2 separate regions of the Homo sapiens genome follow, and region 2 is linked to region 1. The links are contacts of gene promoters, found by promoter capture Hi-C in human tissues and cell types (Jung and others, 2019). All regions are on one chromosome and are shown on one strand. The core of a region is centred on a gene start or on the middle of the fragment in contact, and the rest is flanking DNA. Distances in the headings are between cores, read along the strand shown.

Region 1 (2,700 bases), core at 144-2,643:
GAAGGCCAGTACAGGGGAGAGAGCCAGGGCTCCCACAAAGCAGGGGGTCCCTCCAGGTGAGGCGCTCCATCCTGTAGTGTTCCCTTAAATTCTGCAAGCTACCCCAGATCCCCCATTTCCAGCCAACAAATCCTTTTTAAGTTCCTTTGAGATTTGTTCGTGTGGCTTGCTACACTCAGGACTCTGGAAAGAAGGCCCAGGCCAGAGCTTTGGGCAGGCGGCCATTTAGGGCAAGGGCCCTGTGTTGGCTTCCTGGTGGGGTTGCCCTGCTGGTGGGCGGGAGACCAAGAGCACCCCCGCAACACCAGGAGGCAGGTCGCGGATTGTGCTGTCTACACTCCGGAAGGGGTACATTCCAGGGGCTGCTGCCCCAGACTCACCCCTCGCCTGGGACCCGCACTCTTGAGCTGTGGGTACCACGGTGGCCGTCCCCTTCTGTTCTGTGCAGTGGACTTCCTGGCTCCTCCTTAGCCTTGGGGCCCCCACAGCCCTCGGCTTGGCTTCCCTCCCCATAGCCAGGCCCTGGGTAACTCCAGGGGAAAGTGACCCTGAGGCCCCCCACTTCTCCCCGTGTCCTGCACAGGCCTTGGGCTTTCGGCGGTGCTGTCTGCCGCAGCCCCACGCCTTCCTGGGAGAGTGGCCCAGGCCCCCCTTCCTGAGTGTGACTGCGCTGCCGTCTGCGAGGCCTGCGCGGGTCTCCCCCGGGCTGTCCCTGCTGGGATGGGGACTGGTGGCCCCGGGCCACGTCCTGGATCCGGCTTGCTCCTTGGTACAAGCCCGTACGGGTCACGGTCAGGCAGGAGGGCGGGCGGCGGGGTCCCGGGGGCGCCGAGTTCGGGGCCGTGCGGTCCCCAAGAGCAGGCTGTGCGTGTCCCTGTTGGAGCCCCACGAAGGCGGCCCAGGGCCACCCCTGAGGGCGCGTGGGCCCGACCCGCGTCCCGGATCCAGCTTGCGGCCAGGAATGCAGGTGTTCCAGGGTGCCAAAAGGAAAACGCACAAGGCCTCGTCGAGGAGGGGGGGTCAGGAGGGGACCGGGGGTGGGAAGAACGCGGGGGAGAGGGATGGCAGGGTGCCCGCCCGAGGGACCGACACCTCCGCGAGTGGCACCCCAGGATGCTGACGCCGGCGGGGGTGGGGGCCCGAGGGGCGGTCGGGGTCAGGGGGCGGCCCCAGGGGTAGGGCCGCAGCACGAGGGGCCGCGTGACCCCGGCGGTGACCGGGTGGGGAGAGGCCGGCGCCGGGGCTGGGAGACGGCCGTGGGTGGGAGGGTGCCCCGTGGGGACGCTCCTGCCGCAGCGCCCGGCCACGCGCGAGGCCCCGCCCTCAGGACGCGTTCGGCGGGACGGACCCGCCCACCCCGCAGCCGCGCGCCCGCCGCGCCGCCTTGTGGGCGCTGTAGTCCCGGAGTCCGCGTGCGCGGGGCCGGGTCCGGGAGCCCCAGGGCAGCCGCCCCGCCGAGTCGCAGGTACCGGTGGGGAACGGGGCCACGGGGCCGCGTGTCGGGGGCTGCGGGGTGTCTCGGGGCCCTGGGGTGAGTGCGGGGCGCGGGCCGAGGTTTGCAGGGCCCTGTGAGGTGAGTGTGGGGGCTGGCGCTGGGGTCCGCGGGGCCCTGGGGAGGGTGCGGGGCGTGGGCCGGGGTCTGCGGTCTGCAGCCTGGGGTCCGCGGGGCCCTGGGGAGGGTGCGGGGCGTGGGCCGGGGTCTGCGGTCTGCAGCCTGGGGTCTGGGGGGCCCTGGGGAGGGTGCGGGGCGTGGCCGGGGTCTGCGGTCTGCAGCCTGGGGTCTGGGGGGCCCTGGGGAGGGTGCGGGGCGTGGGCCGGGGTCTCCGCGGGGGTCGCGGTGGCCCGGGCGCCTGGCAGAACCGTTGCTGTGCAGCGGGTTTCCCGCCGCTCGCTTTCCGCCGCAGCCTGCGAATGGGGTGGGGAGTCCCGGCCCCCAGCCTGCCCTCCGCGTCATCCTGGGGCGCCAAGTCCCACCCCCGGGTCTGGAGGAAAGCGTGGATCCGGCGTTCGCGCCCAGGCACGTGTTGCTTCGGGACGGGCCAGCCGGTGGGTGAACCCTGCCAGCCACGCGTGGGGCGGGCCCCTGGCACATCTCCAGACCATTGTCTCCTGTGCCAGAAGCTTTGTAGGTGCAACTTCCCCTTGGAGCAGCTGTGGGTGCGGATCCAGCGGAGCAATCCCGAGGCGTCTCAGAGAGAGCCTGGACAGCCGCTGGAGCCTTTCCCGAGTGGGTCCTTCCAACACCGCTACAGCAGGAAAGCCATCCCCCTAGGGTCCTGTCCATCGGAAACTCCTGTCCTGGGGAGTCTGGCCTGCCTGGCCTCAGGACACAGGCCAACTAAGCTGGCCCCGAAATCCAGAATGCATCCAGAGGGAAGGTGGGATAAAGTCCTTGGAGGCGCCTGTTGGCCGCCCTGTAAAGAGGTGGCCTCCCCCTACGGAGACCCGAGGATCCCCGCACAGCCCAGATTCAATCAGCAGAGCCGAGGTGCCTCTGGCCCAGTGCACCTGCCTGCCCTGTCCAGGCCTGGGAGCCAGGCTGCATCTCACTGGCCGCCTTTGCCTGGGTGCCACCTGTGCACTGCTTGTTGCAATTGCTAATTGCTTTCTTTCCGAAGGGGCTTTGGTGGATTTTTATAATTCCAGATAGTACAGTTATCTCTGCTGGACACAGATGAGAAAGAGTGCTTCTCGGGTGTT
Region 2 (2,700 bases), core at 97-2,596, 130 kb before region 1:
TGAATGAAGACAAAAACAAGATTGTGTCAAAATCCCTCTCCCCACTGACATAAGTGATGACTGTTTCTTTACCAATCACAGCTTTAACCTCACTCCAGTCTAACCTCCTTGTAGATAAGATTTACAGACACTCATCAAAAAATTGTCCCCACTTACTGATACCATCCCACTTTCTTGAACCCTCCCCCAAATCACCTAACCAAAGCCCAAATCCTGTAACAGGTTCTTTCTAACGCCCTCTTACCACAACACCCCATGGTTCCCAGGTGAGTGTCTAGTGGCCTTTGCTTAGAAAACATTGATAGATGCCTTCATAATACTTGCCCATGGGATGTTGCTCTAACTGTGGACCAAGAACTGATGTTTATCTTCCATTCTCCCCTTCCAAAATGGAAGTTTTAAAAATTGCAATTGGCTTGGTTTGGCTCCACTATTGTACAGTGTGAACAGCAGACAACCTGTGTGTCAGTTCAGTCATCAAACGACAAGAGCGACAACTGGATTTGATAAAGACCACACAATGCTAGAAATCCATCCTTTGTGCAAGACACAGTAACTGGGGCAACTCTGGATTGTGTCCCTGGAGAGATGAGTGCATGACAGTCGTGAAAGAAGGGTGTGCCAAGGCGAAGGACTGAGGCAGATAACTAACTGTTCATAAAGAACTGTGCTCCCCTTTCCCAGGACAGCATTGAAACTGGGAAGCAACTGTCAACCACAAACAACACACTGCAGATTTCATGCCTGCATCTAGATAGAACCCCATCACTGGATCTTGCCAGTGGAAAGTATGAAGAGATACAGATCATGGTCCTCGTCACTTTTGGGCCAACATGGCTGAGAAGCATGTGTGCCTTCTCCATGTGTGCTCTCTCATCTGCCAGCTGGACTGACAGGAAGCTGGGCCTAGAGGATAAGGATGCCACCTCCGTAGCAGATGGCATGACCACCCACTGTGAGGAGCTGGGCCGAATCACCACACAGAGGAAACCTGATCACTGATGAGGTACATCCACAGTGAACTGTTACATGAGCAAGAAGTAAATTTTACCATGTAAGGCCCTGAAATTTGTGGGATTGAAAGTTAACCAAAATATCCAAAAATTGGGGGGAAGAGATACAGAGTAAAAGCATGAATCAGATACTGAGAAACCACCCCTCAATTTGCACTGGAACCACAAAGGGCTAACCCCTCAAGGTAAAGAATAAGTCCTCAGAAGCAAGTCAGCCCTCCCAAGCACTGAGCCTTTGTTCTACTCATCCGGTTGTCCTTAAGACTACACTGGATTAAGCTTGCTCCTTTAAGAACCTTAGCAGTACCTGATGAAAACCTCTCTAAAAACAATAATCATCCCAAATTATTTCAAATTATTCCTCAAAATATTCTGCAAATACAAATGTCTAGTAGCCTAAAAGAAATTAGTGACCCATTGAGGAAGAAAGAGTAGAAATCACAGAAAACAAAAACATATCTACAAAGACAAGAAGTTGGAATTACCCAACATAGTCTATTTTAACAACTACACTTGTATAATAACAAAAACCCAAACAACCCAATTAAAAATCTGGCAAATGACCTGAATAGACATTTCTCTCAATAACACATACTACTGGGCAATAAGCACAAGAAAAAATGGTCAACATTACTAATCATTAGAGAAAAGCAAATCAAAACTACAAAGAGATGTCACCTCATACCCATTAGAATAGCTATTATCAAAATAATAATAAGTGTTGGTTAGGATGTGGAGAAGCTGGAACCCTTGTGCATTGCTGGTAGAAATGTAAAATGCGGAGCTGCTATGAAAACAATACAGTCATTCCTCAAAAAGTTAAGAAAAGTATTAGCATATGATCTAGTAATTCCATTTCTAGGTATAGGCACAAATTAAGTAAAAGCAAGGGACTCAAATATTTGTATACCCAAGTTCATGGCAGCATTATTCACTATAGCCAAAAGGTAGATGCAACCCAAGTGTCCATCAAAGAATGAATAAACAAAATGTGATATATATATATATATATATATATATATATATATATATATACACACACACACACACACAATGGAATATTATTCAGTCTTAAAAAGGGAAGAAATTCCAACACATGCTACAACATGGATGAACCCTGAAGACAGTACGCTACATTAAATAAGCCAGTCACAAAAGGAAAAATATTTATGACTTCACTTATATGAAGTATCTATAGTAGTCAAATTCATAGAAACAGAAAGTAGAATGGTAGTTGCCAGGGGTTTGGGAGAGGGAGTTATTGTTTAATGTGTAAAGAGTTTCAGTTTTGCAAGATGAAAAGAGTATTGGAGATGGATGGTTGCACAACAACATGAATGTACTTAATGTCACAGAATTGTACACATAAAATGTACTCTTTAAAATGGCAAATTTTATGTTATATATGTTTAACTAAAATTTTAAAACTATAGTTGCTATAGTTAAAAACAGAAACAATAAATTAGAAGCTACAAAAAGTAACAGTTTCAATTTTTTTTAATCTAAAACTGAAAAGTTATAAAGTCATGAATGGGTTTTAAAGCAGATTGAGTGCTGCTGAAGAAAGAATTGGTGAACTGGAAACTAGGTCAAAATAAAATAAAATATTCAAAGTAAAGTGGAGTGGCCAAAATCCAGAAATATAAGAGAGAGCATGAGAATATATGGTGAGAAATCTAACACAAAT

The links. The method cuts DNA at HindIII sites, captures the fragments that hold promoters and counts their contacts. A contact is called where the count stands out against the background at its distance.
Region 2: a fragment that was not itself captured here is called in contact with the fragment with the promoter of SLC19A1 in region 1 in 2 of the 25 tissues and cell types used here (H1 embryonic stem cells and IMR-90 fibroblasts).

What each region holds. Positions count from the first base shown.
Region 1 is chr21:45,541,133-45,543,832 of GRCh38, reverse strand. SLC19A1 (solute carrier family 19 member 1) reads left to right here and starts at 1,393. Exons shown (of 6, transcript NM_194255.4): 1 at 1,393-1,465. RefSeq lists silencers at 1,120-1,199, 1,240-1,549, 1,900-1,959 and an enhancer at 753-1,265. The HindIII fragment of the contact is 13,138 bases long and covers 1-2,700 here.
Region 2 is chr21:45,669,154-45,671,853 of GRCh38, reverse strand. All of the region lies in intron 2 of PCBP3 (poly(rC) binding protein 3), which reads right to left. Among named protein-coding and RNA genes, the nearest start is that of PCBP3, 27 kb to the right of the region's middle. The HindIII fragment of the contact is 6,647 bases long and covers 1-2,700 here.